Regions from separate parts of the Homo sapiens genome. Here regions 1, 2, 4, 5, 6 and 7 are each linked to region 3. The links are contacts of gene promoters, found by promoter capture Hi-C in blood cells and fetal thymus (Javierre and others, 2016). All regions are on one chromosome and are shown on one strand. Each heading gives the region's core, a stretch centred on a gene start or on the middle of the fragment in contact. The rest is flanking DNA. Distances are from core to core; before and after follow the strand shown.

What was found. The method cuts DNA at HindIII sites, captures the fragments that hold promoters and counts their contacts. A CHiCAGO score of 5 or more calls a contact.
Region 1: a fragment that was not itself captured here is called in contact with the fragment with the promoter of TMSB10 in region 3 in 1 of 17 cell types (M1 macrophages); the score reaches 5.9 in M1 macrophages.
Region 2: a contact is called between a fragment that was not itself captured here and the fragment with the promoter of TMSB10 in region 3, in 1 of 17 cell types (M0 macrophages). The highest score is 5.8, in M0 macrophages.
Region 4: a fragment that was not itself captured here is called in contact with the fragment with the promoter of TMSB10 in region 3 in 4 of 17 cell types (M0 macrophages, fetal thymus, total B cells and 1 more); the score reaches 9.1 in M0 macrophages.
Region 5: a contact is called between a fragment that was not itself captured here and the fragment with the promoter of TMSB10 in region 3, in 8 of 17 cell types (naive CD4 T cells, non-activated CD4 T cells, naive CD8 T cells and 5 more). The highest score is 11.7, in naive CD4 T cells.
Region 6: a fragment that was not itself captured here is called in contact with the fragment with the promoter of TMSB10 in region 3 in 5 of 17 cell types (M2 macrophages, total B cells, non-activated CD4 T cells and 2 more); the score reaches 6.7 in M2 macrophages.
Region 7: a contact is called between a fragment that was not itself captured here and the fragment with the promoter of TMSB10 in region 3, in 8 of 17 cell types (non-activated CD4 T cells, naive CD8 T cells, naive B cells and 5 more). The highest score is 11.4, in non-activated CD4 T cells.

The regions. Positions count from the first base shown.
Region 1 is chr2:84,442,912-84,445,642 of GRCh38, forward strand. It overlaps SUCLG1 (succinate-CoA ligase GDP/ADP-forming subunit alpha), which reads right to left. Exons shown (of 9, transcript NM_003849.4): 3 at 373-489. Among named protein-coding and RNA genes, the nearest start is that of SUCLG1, 15 kb to the right of the region's middle. The HindIII fragment of the contact is 5,313 bases long and covers 1-2,731 here.
Region 2 is chr2:85,308,913-85,311,640 of GRCh38, forward strand. It overlaps TCF7L1 (transcription factor 7 like 1), which reads left to right. Exons shown (of 12, transcript NM_031283.3): 12 at 117-1,475. The coding sequence ends at 550. Among named protein-coding and RNA genes, the nearest start is that of TGOLN2, 18 kb to the right of the region's middle. RefSeq lists an enhancer at 724-1,607. The HindIII fragment of the contact is 9,071 bases long and covers 1-2,728 here.
Region 3 is chr2:84,904,371-84,907,070 of GRCh38, forward strand. TMSB10 (thymosin beta 10) reads left to right here and starts at 1,286. Exons shown (of 3, transcript NM_021103.4): 1 at 1,286-1,348; 2 at 1,633-1,747; 3 at 2,019-2,301. The coding sequence starts at 1,648. The coding sequence ends at 2,053. It overlaps LOC105374836 (a long non-coding RNA gene), which reads right to left and starts at 2,651. Exons shown (of 2, transcript XR_940308.3): 1 at 2,293-2,651. RefSeq lists a silencer at 1,043-1,582 and enhancers at 1,549-2,700, 2,553-2,612. The HindIII fragment of the contact is 2,703 bases long and covers 1-1,905 here.
Region 4 is chr2:85,325,236-85,327,935 of GRCh38, forward strand. It overlaps TGOLN2 (trans-golgi network protein 2), which reads right to left. Exons shown (of 4, transcript NM_006464.4): 1 at 2,682-2,700; 2 at 1,273-2,450. Among named protein-coding and RNA genes, the nearest start is that of TGOLN2, 1.4 kb to the right of the region's middle. RefSeq lists enhancers at 1,357-1,526, 1,767-1,946. The HindIII fragment of the contact is 413 bases long and covers 1,218-1,630 here.
Region 5 is chr2:84,511,751-84,514,455 of GRCh38, forward strand. It overlaps a transcript of DNAH6 not described here. Among named protein-coding and RNA genes, the nearest start is that of DNAH6, 3.4 kb to the right of the region's middle. The HindIII fragment of the contact is 3,512 bases long and covers 1-2,705 here.
Region 6 is chr2:84,465,808-84,468,507 of GRCh38, forward strand. It overlaps a transcript of DNAH6 not described here. Among named protein-coding and RNA genes, the nearest start is that of SUCLG1, 7.9 kb to the left of the region's middle. The HindIII fragment of the contact is 3,272 bases long and covers 1-2,700 here.
Region 7 is chr2:84,487,656-84,490,355 of GRCh38, forward strand. It overlaps a transcript of DNAH6 not described here. Among named protein-coding and RNA genes, the nearest start is that of DNAH6, 27 kb to the right of the region's middle. The HindIII fragment of the contact is 5,264 bases long and covers 1-2,700 here.

The DNA of each region.
Region 1 (2,731 bases), core at 171-2,670, 460 kb before region 3:
TGTAGTGAGGCCTGAACAGGGCAATTTGAATGAAACACCTAGCACAGTGCCTACTGCATAGTCCCCACTCAGGAAGAATTAAGGGGTGGTTGCTGACATTTGTACTACTAACATACTGGAAGAAGAAAGGTAAGGAAAGCGTAAAAAGCCCAACAGAAGCCTGGCCACAGTACTTCCTCCCTTAATAGCTGATTCATACCTAGAAACAAAAATAACACACTGGTTTTGATGGCAATTCAAATTTCTCTAGGTTACTGAATTTTCAAATAGCAAGTGACTCTACCAAAAAAACATAATTAAGATCTCTACCCAAAGAATGCTCGCTCTTCCCTTGCTTTTCTTGTCTTGCCAAACTCAGGTACCACTAATTACCTCCTTCACAGTATTAAAGACAGGTAAGCCCAGATGTGTCTGGCCTCCTTTCCCTGGAGTGGTTCCTCCAACGAGTTTGGTGCCATATTCCAATGCCTGCTGGCTGTGAAAGGTGCCCTGAGGGGAAAAAGCACAAGATCCATGAGAAACAGCAGACTGGTAAGCCCAAGAGAAGCAAAAGCAATCTTAGCAACTTAGGAAAAGAAAAACAAATAGGTTAACTATTCCCAGACAATAACATATATTTACTAAACATAGCTTTGAATCTTGAAGCAAAACAAGCCTCTGAAAAGCCAAAATAGCTATAAACAAGGCCTCTTTGATTCCCTGTTTTCAAACTTGGCTGATAACCAGAAACTCCCTGTTTCTCAACTCCTCATGTGCTCACACTCCTCAGTTTAAAATTCATGGTAGATCATTACCCTCCCACAACAATCTTGGCTTTCTCTCACTTCAACTTAAATATCTGGCAAAACCACAACCTGGGTCAAATCCAATTTTTCCCCTACTTCTAAGCCTATACATGTGCAGCCAAAAAGTGGCTAAGGGAAAAAAAAACAAAAAAACATGTCAACTGGTCTCATTTTAAATTAATGATCACTCACCTTAAGTAAGCCTTCAATACTGCCCACCCACCAACCTGTATTTCTCTATCCATTCACTTTTCCTCCTCAACCTCAGCATTATTGACATTTTGGACAGGATGATTCTTTCTTATGAGAGGTCATCCAGTGCCTAGTGGGACATTTAGCAGCATCCATGGGCTCCACTCATTAGATGCCAGTAGCACACCCTCCTAACTCTCATAATTCCATCCAGTTAATGACAACCAAAAACAGCTCCAAGGACTGATTCATTTTCACTAGGCTTCTGGGGCTTGACTTCCCCTGGTTTTCCTCTTCTCTTTCTCTCTCCTTAGTATTGGGGGAAATTCAGCCAGATATTGGGCAAAATTCACCCCCGATATTTCACTTAGGTTCTTTTCCATATTCCCTAAGTGTCAGCTGGTCTGAGAAATAAAGGGACAGAGTACAAAAGAGAGAAATTTTAAAGCTGGGTGTCCGGGGAAGACATCACATGTCGGCAGGTTCCATGATGCCCCCTAAGCCGTAAAACCAGCAAGTTTTTATTAGTGATTTTCAAAAGGGGAGGGAGTGTACAAATAGGGTGTGGGTCACAGAGATCATGTGCTTCACAAGGTAATAGAATATCACAAGGCAAATGGAGGCAGGGTGAGATCACAGGACCACAGGACCACAGGACCGGGGCGAAATTAAAATTGCTAATGAAGTTTCCAGCACGCATTGCATTGATAATATCTTATCAGGAGACAGGCTTTGAGAGCAGACAACCGGTCTGACCAAAAATTATTAGGCGGGAATTTTCTCATCCTAATAAGCCTGGGAGCACTACGGGAGACTGGGGCTTATTTCATCCCTACAGCTGCAACCACAAAAGATGGCCGCCCCCCGAAGTGGCCATTTTAGAGGCCTACCCTCAGGGATGCATTCTCTTTCTCAGGGATGTTCCTTGCTGAGAAAAAGAATTCAGAGATATTTCTCCCATTTGCTTTTGAAAAAATATGGCTCTGTTCCGCCCGGCTCACCGGTGGTCAGAGTTTAAGGTTATCTCTCTTGTTCCCTGAACATTGCTGTTATCCTGTTCCTTTTTCATGGTGCCCAGATTTCATATTGTTCAAACACACATGCTCTACAAACAATTTGTGCAGTTAATGCAATCATCACAGGGTCCTGAGGCGACATACATCCTCCTCAGCTCACAAAGATGATGGGACTAAGAGATTAAAGTAAAGACAGGCATAGGAAATCACAAGGATATTGATTGGGGAAGTGATAAGTGTCCATGAAATCATCACAATTTATGTTCAGAGATTGCAGTAAAGACAGGCGTAAGAAATTATAAAAGTATTAATTTGGGGAACTAATAAATGTCTATGAAATCTTCACAATTTATGTTCTTCTGCCGTGGCTTCAGCCGGTCCCTCCGTTCAGGGTTCCTGACTTCCCGCAACACCTTAGACTTCTCTTTTTCATCTAAATTCATGCCCTTGGTGATGTCATCCCTTATCATGGCAATACATATCATCCATATGGTGACCCCTCCCACATACACAAAGACACATACACCCCACATATCTAAGCCTTGAACTCCATATTCACATTGTCAACTGCCTACCTGACACCTCCACTTTGAGAACTAGCAGGCATCTCAAACTCAACATGTCCAAAACTGAGTTCCCAATCACTCCCCTCCATCTACCCCATCTCAGTTAAAGACAACTTCACGCCTTACAGATAATCAGACCAAAAATACTGAAGCCATCCTTGATTATTCTCTT
Region 2 (2,728 bases), core at 44-2,543, 400 kb after region 3:
GTCCTCGCCAAAATCATCCCTGTGTCTCCAAAGCACATGTATCGCCAGGGCTGTTCCTCAGCCTCCTCCTCTCACAGAGCTATAGCTGCTCACTCTTTCTTGTATTTTCCCCCTAGGTGCCCTGGCCTCCAAGAGCAAGAAGCCATGTGTTCAGTACCTGCCCCCCGAGAAGCCCTGTGACAGCCCTGCCTCCTCCCACGGGAGCATGCTGGACTCCCCGGCCACTCCCTCTGCAGCTTTGGCCTCACCAGCTGCCCCTGCTGCCACCCATTCGGAGCAAGCCCAGCCCCTCTCCCTCACCACCAAACCAGAAACCCGGGCCCAGCTGGCTCTCCACTCTGCCGCCTTCCTGTCGGCTAAGGCTGCAGCCTCCTCCTCTGGGCAGATGGGCAGCCAGCCTCCCCTCCTGTCCCGGCCCCTCCCCCTTGGGTCCATGCCCACAGCTCTGCTGGCCTCTCCCCCGTCCTTCCCCGCCACGCTCCATGCCCACCAGGCCCTCCCGGTGCTACAGGCCCAGCCTCTTTCCCTGGTCACCAAGTCTGCCCACTAAGCTCCCCCCGACCCCTGCAGGCTGTCACATGACTCATTGAGTAGTAATGATTCAGAAGAAAAAGAAAAAGGAGACTTTATTGGTCAATATTTGACCACTCTGGACTGTTCTGTAAAGTGGCTGGTAACAACAGCACTTTACAGTTTGTAGATGTAACCAGTAGCTGATCTTAAGGCTTTTTTAAAAAACAAAACAAAACAACAAAAAAAAATCTTTATAAGAAAGAGAACTGAAAAGTAGCGTGCTATTCGTCCTGTAGGTGCTGTGGTGGATGGACCTGGGCAGAGGGCACTTCTCTCTCTTACCTCTCTTGCACTTTCTGTCTCCTGTCTCTTCTCGCCCCTGCCGCCTGCCCCAGCTTCCCCGACTCCATCTGCAGCTCTGCCATTGTGACATTTCCTGTTACCCAGCCCAAGTTTTCATCGTCTGCTCAATACCGTGGGTTCTTCTTCGTCCTCTGTCCTCTGCCCAGTGTGAGGCCATCACCATGTGAGAAGACATCTTGGCCTGATTTGCTGCCACCAGCGTCCCCTCCCTCAGTGGGCCCGAACTCGCCAGCCCCAGCTTTCAGTGGAGAAAGCGGTCCTCTGAAATGGTTTCCTCCCAACCCCCGCATTTAAAGGGACTCAAGGTGCCTGCCACTTCCTCAGCGAAGAAGTCTGTGTTCCTCCCCGTCCTTGCCAGTGGCGATCATCCCTTCACAATCCCAGAGTGGCAGGCGGGACCGGCCCCATGGTCTGGCTCCTGTCACCTGGGTCCGTGCCAGCACAATCTGCCAAAGTTCTAGAGACCCTGTTCCCTTCCCCATCACCTCACATGCTTCTTCTGTGTGTATTTCTTTTTGTTTTTATGGTTTTTGGAGCAATTTAAACTCCCAGTTGTTTATTTTCACAAAAGAAAATAAAATTGCAGTTGCAAGACCTTTTCTGAGTGTTTCTTTAGTGCTTTTGTTGAATCAAACCACCTGTTTGTTTCACTCCCAAACCCTGTGTTAGACTTTCGCAGATATGCAAAGGAAGATTGCCACTTGCCACAGGGGAATGTTAGGCATGCCTGACACCCTTAGAAAACCTGAACCCAGCTTCCTGTCTCAAATGTGCATGGGCCAGTCAGTGTCCATGACTGAGCTGCAAAGGGGGTAATCATTTTCACAGCTGATTTAAATGAATTTGCCGCCTGGAATGACATTCAGCTTATGCTTCTATCACCCATTTGACTCGTAATTGCCAAGATGTGAGGAAGCATCTTTTGGATACTTTCCATAGTATCTAGCACCACAATTAATTTTTTGTAACAGCTTTATGGAGATATACTTCAGCCATTTAAAGTTACACTTCACCCATTTAAAGTATACAGTTCAGCTGGGCAGAGCCGCTCTTGCCTATAATCCCAATGCTTTGAGAGGCTGAGGCAGGAAGATGACTTGAGGCCAGGAGTTCAGGACTAGCCTGGGCAACATAGCAAGACCTGATCTCTTTAAAAAAAAAAAAAAAAGCAACTAGCTGGGGATGGTGGCACACAAGCCTGTAGTCCCAGCTTCTCAGGAGGCTGAGGCAGGAGGATTGCTTGAGCTCAGGAGCTCAAGACTGCAGTGAGTTATGATTGTGCCACTGCATTCCAGCCTTCTCAACAGAGTAAGACTCTGCCTCAAACAAAAAAGGTATACAATTCAGGCTGGGTGCGATGGCTCACACCTGTAATCCTAGCACTTTGGGAGGCCGAGGCGGGTGGATCACCTGAGGTCAGGAGTTCGAGACCAGCCTGGCCAACATGGCGAAACCCCGTCTCTACTAAAAATACAAAAATTAGCCAGGCATGATGGTGCGCACCTGTAATCCCAGCTACTTGGGAGGCTGAGACAGGAGAATCGCTTAAACCCGGGAGGTGGAGGTTGCAGTGAGCCGAGACAGCGCCATTGCACTCCAGCCTGGGCAACAGAGCAAAACTTCATCTCAGAAAAGAAAAAAAAGTAGACAATTCATTGGCTGTATGTTCAGAGTTGTGCACCTATCACCAGTCAATTTTAGAAAGTTTTTGTCAGTCCCAAAGGAAGCCCCATATCCTTTGAAAATCACTCCACATTTTGCCCATCTCCCCCAGCCCTAGGCAACCACTAATCTACTTTCTGTCTCCAAACTTGTCTATTCTAGACATTTCATATACAGTCATGCATCGCTT
Region 3 (2,700 bases), core at 36-2,535:
TGGTGGTGCACGCCCGCAGTCCCAACTGCTCAGGAGGCTGAGGTGGAAGAATCACTTGAACCGGGGAAGTCCAGGCTGCCATAAGCCGTGATCACACCACTGCACTCCAGCCTGGGTGACAGAGTGAGACCCTGTCTCAAAAAAAGTAAATAAATAAAATCAGGACCGAATTTAGGATGTCACCACCAAATCCCACTTTAAAGAGCTCGGTAATACTTCACACTTAAAAAAGGAAAGGTCAGGACAAATAAAAGAATGACCAGCCTTAACTCCGGGGCTGGTAATTTATGGAACTTATTACCTAACGGTGTTGCACAGGCTGAAAATACAACTTTTCTAAGAAAGATGTGAATAATTGCAGTATACCACTCCTACAATGGGTTAATAAGAAAAACAAGAACGTTTGTAGGCATGTGGGTCTCTATTATCCTCAAGGTTAACTTCAAGGAGGAAAACCGCACCCGCTGATACAGTGTTTCTAGGAGCTCGACGAGAAAAGGCAAACTGCGAGCCTTCTCGGGACGCCCTGTTCCCACCACAGCCCTTCACACAATGCGTCTAACAGCATTTAAGGAACACCCGCCACGCCAACGATCCTGCTGGAACCGCCCAGTTCAGGGAACAGGGGACGACTGACCAGAAGGCAACCGCCCCCAACCTGAGCAAAGAGCGCTGGAAACCTATTCCCCCCTCCCCCTACACCCCCCCGCCCCCCGCTCCACTACGGGACCCTCGGCTCGAATTCTTTTAGTGCAGGACCACCTTAGGACTCAGCCTCCCTAAGGAGAGGAAAAGTGGGGGAGGGAAGGGGACTCTGGAGGAGCAAAAGCAAGAGGCCTGGGGGCGACTGGGGTGGGGCGTCTCCTAGAGCGAGGATTGCTGCAGAGTGCGCGTGCACGCCCGCACATCCACACCCACGGCTACACATCATATCTGCACACGCACAAAACCACACACCCTCCCACGCCGGTCCCATATCCTTTCTGCGGGGTGAGCAGCAGATTCCCGGAAAGGGGGAAATGTAGCCGCAAAAGCAAAGCCGGGGGCCTGGCGCCCACTCTGGCGGCGACTACAGCCCCCACGCTGGGCACACTGCGAGCTGGGGGTGCCCGGCGCGGGAGAAGCCGCGCCCAGCCGGGCTGGTAGCCCAGCGGGGGGCGCGGCAGGGCGAGGAGCAGCCCGCGCTGCTCCCGCCCCTCGGGTGCCAGCACCGCCCCTGCTGCGGCGGGTGAGGGGCGGGGCGGGGCGCGGCGTATATAAGGCTAGGGGCGGGCGCCGCTCTTTTGTTTCTTGCTGCAGCAACGCGAGTGGGAGCACCAGGATCTCGGGCTCGGAACGAGACTGCACGGTGAGTGCGGCGCCGGGGCGGGGGGCCCACCCAGGGTGTGGTCGGATCCGGTGCACCGGGCGGGCGCGCCGCAACCGCGACAGGCGCCCTTCTCGGACCGGACGCAGGGGCCGGCGACCACGCCCTGGGACCGAGAAGAGGGGTGCGGGACGCGCCCAGATCCTCGGCCTTGGGGCTGCTCGGCACGCCTTGGCGCGAGTGCCACGTCGAGAGGCGTCGGCGGGGAGCGCGGAAGGGGACGCTGGCCCCCAGGCCCAGGTCAAGCGCCTTGGTTTGCCCACTAGGATTGTTTTAAGAAAATGGCAGACAAACCAGACATGGGGGAAATCGCCAGCTTCGATAAGGCCAAGCTGAAGAAAACGGAGACGCAGGAGAAGAACACCCTGCCGACCAAAGAGAGTGAGTGTGCCTCGGTCTCCCGCGCCCCAGCCCAGCCCCTCACCCTGCTCTTCCTTGCAAACCCACTCCTCCACCCCCCACCCCGCCGTTGTCCCCGGTGTGGGCGGCCCCGGCCACTCTTTCAGTTTCACAAAGCGCCTTGTTTCTCCCCAGCCCCAAGCTTCCTTCTAAATCCCCACACCTCGTGGGTGCCTCGCCCACACCGGGAAGCACCTCGGTTGCGGGTGGGGGTTGCAGCTCCCCTCCAGCGCCCGCTTCCCGCTCTCCACAGCCATTGAGCAGGAGAAGCGGAGTGAAATTTCCTAAGATCCTGGAGGATTTCCTACCCCCGTCCTCTTCGAGACCCCAGTCGTGATGTGGAGGAAGAGCCACCTGCAAGATGGACACGAGCCACAAGCTGCACTGTGAACCTGGGCACTCCGCGCCGATGCCACCGGCCTGTGGGTCTCTGAAGGGACCCCCCCCCAATCGGACTGCCAAATTCTCCGGTTTGCCCCGGGATATTATAGAAAATTATTTGTATGAATAATGAAAATAAAACACACCTCGTGGCATGGCTGGCGTGGTCTGAGTCTTTTAGTTGAGTATGCGTGGGCAGTGCCACTGCAGCAAAGCCCCTCGATGGAGTAGAGTTCCTGCCGCAAAGGGGAGGAGGTGGGTCGCAGAATGGGCTGACTCGGAGGGAGTTTTTAATTTTGGCTTTACCTGCTTCTCCGTAAGATTTCATGACTTGTTAGCCACTTAACTCTTGCTCGTAAGCAATCTGTGTAAAATTTAACCCCACTTTGTCCCCAGGTTGCGTTGGAAAATGCTTTTTCAAAAGAGCAAGGTTTGCTTTTGATAAGCTTCGAAAGCCCCACTGTTTCCCTCTGGCCTCCTCCTAGCTGACTCAGAAGGGAACACTGATTTTAAAGAAAGAAAAGACAATCTGGAATGTTGGAAATTGGGTGAGG
Region 4 (2,700 bases), core at 174-2,673, 420 kb after region 3:
CTAGCGTGTGGGAGGAAGTCTGTTTGATTTATTCAAAGGTACACAGTCAAAGATCTATCAACTCCTTCCTAGAGATATCTAGGATATAGGACATTCCTTTAAAAAAAGTCATAATCAGAATTTCCTATCTACAAATGTACTTTTTCACCCCACGATGCTACATCAACTACATTCTTTATCAATCTCATTTCATGACTAAGGTTACCCTGCATAATGGACACTTGGACATAGAATAAGAAATACACTTTTTTTTTTTCTTAGAGGCAAGGTCTCACTCTGTCACCCGGGCTGGAGTGCAATGGCGTGATCATGGCTCACTGAAGCCTCGACCTCCCACAGTCAAGCCATCCTCCCACTTCAGCCTCCTGAGTAGCTGGGACCACACACGTCCACCACCACATCTGGCTAATTTTTTTATTATATGTAGAGACGAGGTCTTGCTATGTTGGCCAGGCTGGTCTCGGACTCCTGGGCTCAAGCGATCCTCCTGCCTCGGCCTCCCAAAGTGCTGGGATTAGAGGCAGGAGCCACTGCACCGGGCCAGGAATGCACATTTTTACTAAAGGTCTTCCCCTTTATTCTTTATAGCCATAGGCCTTATGGCCAGAATTGGACTCTCCAATTTTAAGCAGGTTACAGAAACTAGCTTCTAAATGTTGGGGGCTCAATATGAAATGCAATCATTTTGTCATTAGAGTGGTTGCTAATAAACAGACCAAACCCTGATGAAAAAGTAACAGGTGTACGTGTCTGTGCAATTTCTGGGCTTTCTTCTAATTATTATTAATTGCAGAAGTCCCTGGGCTCTTTGGTCCTGGTATCGAAGACGCAGTAATTGAAACCATTCTTTGTGCCACTGCTGATGGAAGAGAGAATGTTGGGAAAGGAAGCTAGAAATGACATATCGTCTCAAGAAGGGAAATAGGATGGAAGGTACGTGCTTTAACTGTCAAGTACTCAGGTCCTCTGAGGCTGTGAAGGACCTAAGTGCAAAGTTATGGGAGGAGATTCCAAGTCAGGTCAGATCCTAATAATGTCCTAACTTGGCTCCTAATGCAGTAGCAGAGGACACTCAGAGTAAACAGGTGACAGGATGAAAACACGATTAACAAAACAAGAGTAAAGAGGCCTAATAGGGCCTGAGGAAAAAACTGAAGTTTGTTTTAAAGTCCCCAGTGCTCACGGGCATCTAGTGACGGGATACCCACCCACACCCAAGCTTCCAGGGTGCTGGAAACCCCACTCCCCTCCGGAAGGCCGCTGTCGACTTACCTTCCGCTTGTTGTGATGAGCGATATAGAGGACAGCCACAAGAATGGCTGCAGTCACCAGATATGCAAAGAAGTGGCTGCTCTCCGCGCTGCCATTTCCAGAACCGTTCGGATAAAGGTCATCCTTCTCGCTACCCGTGGAATCCGAAAGTGTCCCTTCACGGTTCTCACTGGAGGCAGAACCGGACATCTTTTCTTTCTCTTCTTTGGGCGGTGAGCCCTCCTCGGGTCCTGTATCATCATCTTCAGCCTCTTTGGGCTCCACATCCTCAGTAGGCTCTGAAGACTTAACTTCCTCCTGCGGGGGAGAAATGAGGTCAGTTTCCTCCCCAGATTCGGTTTTGAAAGCATGAGGAGAAAGCTTCCCTTTGTCAGCAAGCTGGTTTGTGTCAGCCTTGGGGAGCTCCTTGTTATCAGAAGGGTTGGAGATGGGCTTGGAATGGTCTTTCCGGGAAGGCTGCTCTGGAACCACCTTGTTAGGGCTGTCTTTTGAGGTCTGCTCCTCCGCACCCGACTTGCTGGGCCCGTCTATTGGGCCCTGCTCCTCTGCACCGGACTTGTTAGAGCCGTCTTTTGGAGTCTGCTTCTCCGCACCCGACTTGTTAGGGACGTCTTTTGGGGTCTGATCCTCCGCACCCGACTTGCTGGAGCCGTCTTTTGGGGTCTGGCCGTCCGCACCCGACTTATTAGGGACATCTTTTGTGGTCTGCGCCTCCGAACCTGACTTGCTAGGGCTGTCTTTTTGGGTCTTTGCCTCCGCACCCGACCTGTTGGGGCTGTCTTCTGGGGTCTGCGCCTCCGCACCCGATTTGCCAGTGCTGTCTTTTGGAGTCTGCAGCTCCGGATGCGACTTACTAGTGCTGTCTTTTGTGGTCTGCGCCTCCGAACCCGACTTGCTAGTGCTGCCTTTTTGGGTCTTTGCCTCCGCACCCGACTTGTTGGAGCTGTCTTTTTGGGTCTTTGCCTCCGCACCCGACTTGTTGGGGGTGTCTTCTGGGGTCTGCGCCTCCGCACTCGACTTGCTAGGGCTGTCTTTTGGAGTCTGCGGCTCCGGATGCGACTTGGTAGAGCCTCCAGGCCGTTGGCTCAAGCTGGGGTGGGTGGAGACGTTTCCTGCAGAAGGCCGTACTCCAGCTTCTTCTTGCTTGACGCTTTCGGTGGCCAAGAGCGGCACGGCTCCTGAAATAGAAAAACGAGTTAGCACCGGAGAAGGGCAGGCGGGAAGAAGGAACTCCTCAGAACTGGAAGAGATCGGGAGCAGCGGGGGAATGGGGATTGGGGGGTGGGGCGGGAGACGATGGCGAGCGGAGAGGTGGGTCGGGTAGGGAAGAAGCGAGCCTAGAGGTGACCTGCCCAGGTGAGAATGGGGGATCTGGGGGCAAGAGTGGGATGCGGGATGGAGGGTCTTACCCGCCGCTGCGACGTTCAG
Region 5 (2,705 bases), core at 15-2,514, 390 kb before region 3:
TTTTCCTGCATATATTGAGTTGATCATGCTGTCTTTTTTCCCTCTTCTTCTGTTAATATGATGTATTACATTTATGATTTTTTTATGTTGAAATACTTTTACATTCCTGTGATGAATCATACTTACCCATGGTGTATAATCCTTTGAATATACTGCTGGATTCAGTTTGCTAGTATTTCTGATTTTATTTCATGTGGTCAGAAAAGATATTTTGTATGATTGCAGAATTTTAAAATGTATTGAGACTTGTTTTGTGACCTAACACATGGTCTTTCCCAGAGAATGTTTCATGTGCCCTTGAAAAGAAAGTGTTTTCTGTTTTTTTGGGGGGTGGGACATTTTATAGATGTTTTTCAGGCGTGTTTGTTTTATAGTGTTTCTCAATTATTCTATTTCCTTATTAATCTTTTCTATAGTCCCTTAGTCAATTTGGTGTGACTATAATGGAATACATAACACAGGCTGGATAATTCATAAAGAACAAAGAGTTATTTCTTACAGTTCTGGAGGCTGGGAAGTCCAAAGTTGAGAGGCCAGTGGCATCTGGTAAGGGACCTCATGTTGCATTCCCCCATGATGGAAGATGGAAGGGCAAGAGAATATATGAGAGAACAAGAGAGGGTCCAACTCACTTTTATAACAAGCCTTCTCAATAACTACCCTACTCCCAAGAAAACGACATGAATCCATTCATGAGGTCTCTGCATTACGTCTCCATTTTGACCTAATCACCTCTTATTAGGCCCCACCTCTCAACACTGTTGCATTGAGGATTAATTTTCCAACATATGAACTTCAGGGGACACATTCAAACCATAGCAATGGTTTTTCTATCATTACTGAAAGCTAGAATCTTCAACTGCTGTTGTTGAATTGTCTATTTCTCCCTTCGATTCTGTTGGTTATTACTTCATATGTTTTGGGACTGTGTTTTTAGGTGAACATATGTTTTAATTGTTCTAGCTTCTTGATGGATTGACTCTTTTCATAACCTTTATCTCTCATCACAATTTTTGTCTTAAAGTCTATTTTGTTTAATATTAGCATAGCCACTGCCACTTTCTTTTGCTTACAGTATGCATGAAATATCTTTTTTCCTTTATTTTAACCTATCCTGTTTTTGAATCTAAAGTATGTCTCTTATAGACAATGTGTATTTGAGTCATGTTTTTTATTCATTCTGCCTTTTAACTGATAGGTTTAATCAATTTCCATTTAATGTAATTACTGATGAGGAAGGACTTACTTTTGACATTTTGTATTTGTTTTCTATATGTTATTTTTCAATTCTTTCACTATTGCCTTCTTTTGTATGAGGTAGATTTTTTTAAGTGTACCATTTTGGTTCACTTTTTATCTATTTTTTTTTAGTTATTTTCTTAGTGGTTGCCCTGTGATTACAATTAACATCTTAATTTATAATTAATTAAGTTTTTCTTCCTGTAAGTGGACCATACTTTCTTTGTTTGCATGTCTCATACTTTTGGTTGAAAATTGGATATTGGATATGTTGAATATTATAATATGGTAACTCGGGAAATCAGATTCTCCTGCCTTCTAAGAATTTGTTGTTTCTGCCTGTTGTAGGTTGTATTTGTTTGTTGCTGACTTTTGTAAACTATTATTTAAAGACTGTATGCTTTGTCACATGTGGTTACTGAAATCTCTAAAGTCACTGAAGTCTTACAACTTTTGTGGAAGGATGGACTTTTAGAGTTCCTTACTCTACCATTTTTGCTAATGTTATTCCCATAATTACTTTTAAATTTTATATTGTCATTATCCTTGAACATTTCATAAATATTTTATGTATTCTATATTTAAGAGTTCTAATATATAATGTGTTTGCCTTTTAAGTCTTGTTTATTCTGCTAACTCTTGTTTGGAGTGGCTTGTTTTCTTGTATGCTTGGGTTTTTTTTAATTGTAAATTTATATTTGGCTGAAACTAACTTGTGAGAATTCTAAGGACTCAGAGTTGATGATGCCTTTCTCTTCATGGGTATTTCCTAGTAGCTTGCATTTTTTTCCCCAGACCACATAGGTAGTGTAAATGAAAAACCCAGAACTAGTTTTGTCTATACTCCTAAATTCCTGGGGGAGACTATTATATTTTTAACAATTTTTTCCCACCTGGATCTACAGGTAGAAATATGCTGGTTTTCCTGTAGGTTTTTGTCACTGCCAGTTTTTTCCTAGTCCAACCTATTACTGAGGGGATAATTCTTCCAACAGTCTCAGATGTGTGTGGCAACTGTAGTTTGCTCTTCCATTTTGTGTAGACTCAAGCAAGGCCTAGTCTTCCATTTCTCCTCAGCATTAATCCCTGAAGCTATATGTTCTTTGTATAGGCATTTGTACCCACAGCACCCACAGCTTCCATGTTATTTATTGCTCTGGTTTCATCTGATTATTATTTTGACACTTGAGGATTCCCTTATTTCTGTGAGCCCTGCTATACTCCACTATATATCCAGAAGCAGAATTCTATGATTCAATAATCTTGGGCTCAAATTCATATAGAAATTTAAGTTGATGGATCTGGATTTGTATCTCAGCTCTGCCACTTACTACCTCTGAAGTGACTTGGGAAAGTCACACAACCTCTTTAAGCCTCAATTTCCTATCTGTGGAATAGGTATAATAATACCTCTAACATAAGGTTATTGCAATGATTAGTGGAATAGCACCCATCACAAATGGCCT
Region 6 (2,700 bases), core at 201-2,700, 440 kb before region 3:
ATTGCAAAGACAAACTTAAAAACAATTGATAAGACTAGAATCTAATAATTCCAATTTTTACTAAAGACAAAGCATGATAAGACCAATTTGTTTTATTATACTTGGCCTGATTATTTGTATAAAGTACAGCAAGAATAATTATTTTTCATGTAAGCTCTTTTTAAGTTGGCTTTGATGGAACTCTCTTCCATAGAACAATCTCAGATAAGACTTTTTTAAAGCCGAGCCCTGCCATAGGTTTTTATCCTCAAATACCTATGAGTTGGGTAAATTTCTCTCCTTTTGAGGTCCCAAGGTAACCTGGGGCTCCTGGACCTGTGAGAACGTGGCATTCTTTACCTACCGTTATTTACTTAACTTCTTTACTTACAGGCCAGAAACCCTGTACAGGGATTGTGTAGGCAAGGTATGAGGCCAGTTCCCCAAAGGGCTTTTATTGGCTCTACAAGTCAAGTTTGATTCCTTAAAGGAAAGCACACCATTCCAGTCAAAGCCTTGGTAAAATAATCAATTTCTCCAATTGTGTCCTGTTACAAAAGAAAACAGATTCTTATTGCACTTATGCAAATAACTATATTGCTATAAATTAAGAATACTCTCAGTTTCCAAATTTTGGAGAAATCAGGTAGAGAGAAACAAATATGCTGCAAATTTTGTTCACAGTAGCTTACTCTACTCAATTGCTAAAACCTGTAAATAGCTCAAAAAAAAGTTTCCTCGATTCTGAAAAACAAAACAAAGGATCAGCAATATTTTAAGCAAAGTTAAAAAGATTAGGCTTCTTCAGCTTAGTTCATGTAGTTAACTTCTGTTTAATAGTTATGAACATTATAGCTCTCTATGAGAGTTCTGAAAATGTTTTCCTCTATTCTGATGTCACAGTCTCCACTTATCAGAAAACCTGCATTTAAGAATACCAGTTAGAGTTCTATAATTGATTATAAACCAACTTCTAAAGAGGATTAAAACAAGGTAACAATCATTTGTGGATGACAAAACGTCTTAGGATAGCCACAGTTAAAAACATGATTGACAAAGAAATTTGGTTACCTCTGTGGCATACAATAATTCAAAACAACAATTATAATCATTACTGATAATGTACACTAAGTCATATCAAAATTATAGGAGTTTCCCATAGTTTTGGAACACATATACCAATAACACATTTATAGAAATACAGCCCAAAGAAAACCAAACACCGTTTTTACAAATTTTTGTTAAAGAGCAGATCATAAGCAGGTTTTTGCTCTAAGAAAAACCTGGTTTGCATTTATTCCAATGTTCAGTTTACAGAAAAACTGAATACCCCTTTAACTTTAGCCAGTGTGTTCACGCAGAATCTCTTTTACAATTAATGTTTCACAAAACTTTTACAACTTGCTTAAACCTTCAGATTTATCCTAACTTAAAACAATCCTTTAATCCTTTAATCTAGGCAAGAAAAATCCACATTCCCATGCCTTCTTACAATCTTTTTTTTACCATAAACACATTTTACTTTTCTTACACATCTTGCATATAAAACTGTTTCTTCAAGAGTCTCAATTACATGTTACAGTGTTAACGCTTAGCAACTTTTATTTTTGATGAAAACCTTGACAAGTTCAAGATTTTAATTATGTGCCAGGTGTGGAGCCTAGCCTAGGAGACAACAGGCAGAAGTGCAGATAAGAGCTGACTCCAGCATAGCTAGGAGGCTAACTCCACATGTCCCAAGGCCGTACCTTACTTAAGCAAGCAAGTTGTAGAGTGAGAGTCATAGTGGCATTTTATGAGGCATTTAGGAGGTCTAACAACCTTTGAATTGTACAACATTTCTTGCATAAACCCTTTCATGGCTTACACAGACCATCTGAGACATTCTTGGACTTTCTGACTTGCCCTAAACATCCCTCCTTTTAAACAACCAGTCATTTTACTTTAGGACAAGAATTTAACATATGAGATCCTTTCTTATATAAAATCTCTCTATTTATAATCTTTGTGTAGCTAGGGGACATGGCTAATTCCACATGTCCCCAGGCCTTATCTAGAATCTAATGGCTTTAAGGTAGGTAAATTGAACAATTTTTAAAAGTTAAAGAGGTGGTTTATGACCTTAAAGCATTTAGCAAACTTAATCTGACCTGCATAATTTAGACTAAATGTTTTTCTTTTATCAATAATTTTTAATAAATTGAACACTTTTTAAAAGTTAAAGAGGTGGTTTATATGACCTTAAAGCATTTAGCAAACTTAATATCTGACCTACATAATTTAGACTAAATGTTTTTATTTTATCAATAGTTTTTAAAGCTGTTTTTATTTCCCAAAGATTACTAAAGTTACCTGAAGTAAAAAGCGTTAGTTTTTATTTAACTTTCAAAATATTTGATTTAAGTGCTTATTTTTATTTAAGGCAATTAATTAGAGTTTTTTTATATAAACATTACACACAACACATATATAGCTACACACAAAGACAGAAGAAGATTACTACAGTAGTTGTAAGATTTTTCATTTGCCGGTTTTTAAGTTTCTTAATTGGATTACTAGCTTTAGGGTGGAGCCCTTGGAAGAACAGGGCCAGGAAAGGGTCTGTGGTGCCTCCTGTTTACCCCAAGGAGTCCAGGCTGTTAGAGCTTGAATATCTGTTTTTAACTAAACTGATTTTAACCATAGCACTCTTTAATAAAGCCCTTTTAGAATTTCTTATGC
Region 7 (2,700 bases), core at 56-2,555, 420 kb before region 3:
GACACTTGCCAAATAATGCTGCCTGTGAATAGGGGCCTAAAGTCTGCCCGTAATGAAGCACAGCTTGAATTTCACAAATATTTGGGCCCACTGGTGGAAGAAGCCAGAGAGCAAGGGCAGGCCCCTTTCCAGGTCAGCGGGAGACCTGAGGTCAGCACTTAAAACCTGTTACTGAATTGCTGATTATACTCTTTGGACCTGGTACCAAGTCCCTGTCTATGGGGATAACTGTGTAGAGAGAAAAGTACATTCCTGGGGACAAACAACCTAATCTAGGACATCCTGACACAGTGGGATATTTGTACATGTCAAAGCTGTCTTTTAAAAGAGATCCTGTCTTGTCAACTGACACACTCTTAGGATTCCAGTCTACTTTTGTACTCAGTTTGAGGAATATAAATTGAGTACTCTGTTTTTAGGCATTAAAAAAACATCCTAAGAAAATAATTCATCCATGCTTACAAAGATGTGCAAGGGAAAATAAGAACTGGTCTAGATGCCCAACGATGGGAATACTAGGTAGGTATGTTAGTTTTCTACAGTGGGAGTAACAAATTACCACAAAGGTAATGTTGTTTAAAACAACACAAATTTATTCTCTTACTGTTCTGGAGGTCAGAAATCTAAAAGTTAGTGGGTGCAGTGCACCAGCATGGCACATGTATACATATGTAACTAACCTGCACAATGTGCACATGTACCCTAAAACTTAAAGTATAATAAAAAAAATTAAAAAATAAAAAAATAAAAAAATTAAAAAAATTAAAAAAAAGAAATCTAAAATTAAGTTAAATCTAAATTAAAGTATTGGCAGTGATGCATCCCTTCTGGAGGCTCTAGGAGTGAATCTTTATTTTTTCCAATTTCTAGAGGCCACCCACATTCCTTGGCTCCTGGCCGCTTCTTTCAGCTTTAAAGTATACCACTCCAACCTCTACTTCCGCCGTCACTTCTTTTTTTAATTTGATCTTCCTGCCTCCTCCCTCTTATGTAGACCCTTATGATTACATTGGGCCCGCCTGAATAATCCAGGATAATCTCCCCATTTCAAGATCCTTACTTTAATCACATCTGGAAAGTCCCTTTTGCCATGTAAGGAGACATATTTACACATTTACACATTCCAGGATGAGGACCTAAACATCTTTAGGAGCTATTATTCTGTCTACCATAGCAGGCATTAAATTAGTGATGTAGGGCCATTACGTCTGATCCAAACTTTATTTGGGGTGAGCTACCTCTAGGTATAGATTGGAGGTGGGAATGTAGATGATGAGTGGCAGGGAGCACAGATAAGCCCTCACCATAAGCTCTCTCCCTCATAATAGCTTTATCAATGATAAAGATGATATAGATTATTTACTTAGCTCCTGTGTCTATTTCTCAAATAGGTCTGAAATCATTCAGGGAAAAGTGGGGTATGTTATTGGCCTCCCTATAACTTCAACAGTGTGCATATGTAAGAGTTTCTTTTTTGCTTTCTTTTTTATCTTTTAAATTTCTTTTTTACTTTCTGGAAGTTATTGGTAGAGAACATGAGAGTGTCTTTAGGGTCAACATCTAATTGAATAATTGCTACCTGGGGCACATTGTAATTCCCATTCCCACTAGAAAATTATGTATTCTTCAATTGTTGAATCAGGGAGGCATCATTATTTCTTGAGAAAGACATAGGAGTCAGAGTGATGCTGAAAAAAATTCATTCCTTATATATGATATACTTTTGAAGTTAAAAGATATGTATCATATCTTTTATGATATGATAAACCTAAACCTACAGATGCAGGTTTAGTAAGTATTGAATGGAGCTTAGGCTTTAGGATCCTTGCTTGGACAAGTTCCTTCCAAGGCCTTCCAAAGGCCCCAAGCGATATCTTCACATACTCACAGGTTTCTACAAATGTATTCTTTCTCTTTCCTTTTTTTCTTTCTTTCTCTATTCTTCTTTCTTTCTCTTAAAGAAGCTCTATAAAATTAGCTCTGCCTTGCACCTCCTTATTCTTAAGGCTGATTAGAGAATATGGTCTGTGAACTTGCTAGAATTCACTCTGAATTGGTTAGACCCACAGTTCACTCCTTGACCTATATTTGTTTAATCTAGAGCAGTGTTCTCAAACTTAGCATGCCTCAGAATCACCCAGAAGACTTGTTAAAAAATGGGTTGTTAGACCTCATCCCCAGAGTTTCTGATTCAGTAGTTCTGAGATGGGGCTGCAAAATTTTCATTTCTAACGAGTTCCCAGGTAATGCTGATACTGCTGCCCAGGGAACACACTTTGAGAACCACTAACATAGAGACTCACTATCAACAGATGCTTGAAATGACACCACTGTTGATGTTTCTGAATCTTGTGTCCCTCAGGCCCCAGTGAAGACCAATACCCCCACCATACACTGTGAATCCCAGAACAAAGCATTTTTTCAGTTTTTTACATTTTTTTAATACTTGGACTTTTTGGCCTGAAGCAGCAGCAGAAATGTTTGTATCTACCACATATTGTTTTCCACAGAAATAGGATATGTCTTTAGTGTTCTACTTTCATGTTATTGCTGAACTTCTTCCAGAAAGTCTTAACGCTTGGTTTTCTTTCTTTCTGACTCTTTCTTTTCTTTCTTCTTTCTTTTCTTTCTCTTTTTCTTTTCTTTTCCACTTTTTCTTGTATAATTTAATGTGCATTCAGTAAACAGCACCCTTTTAAT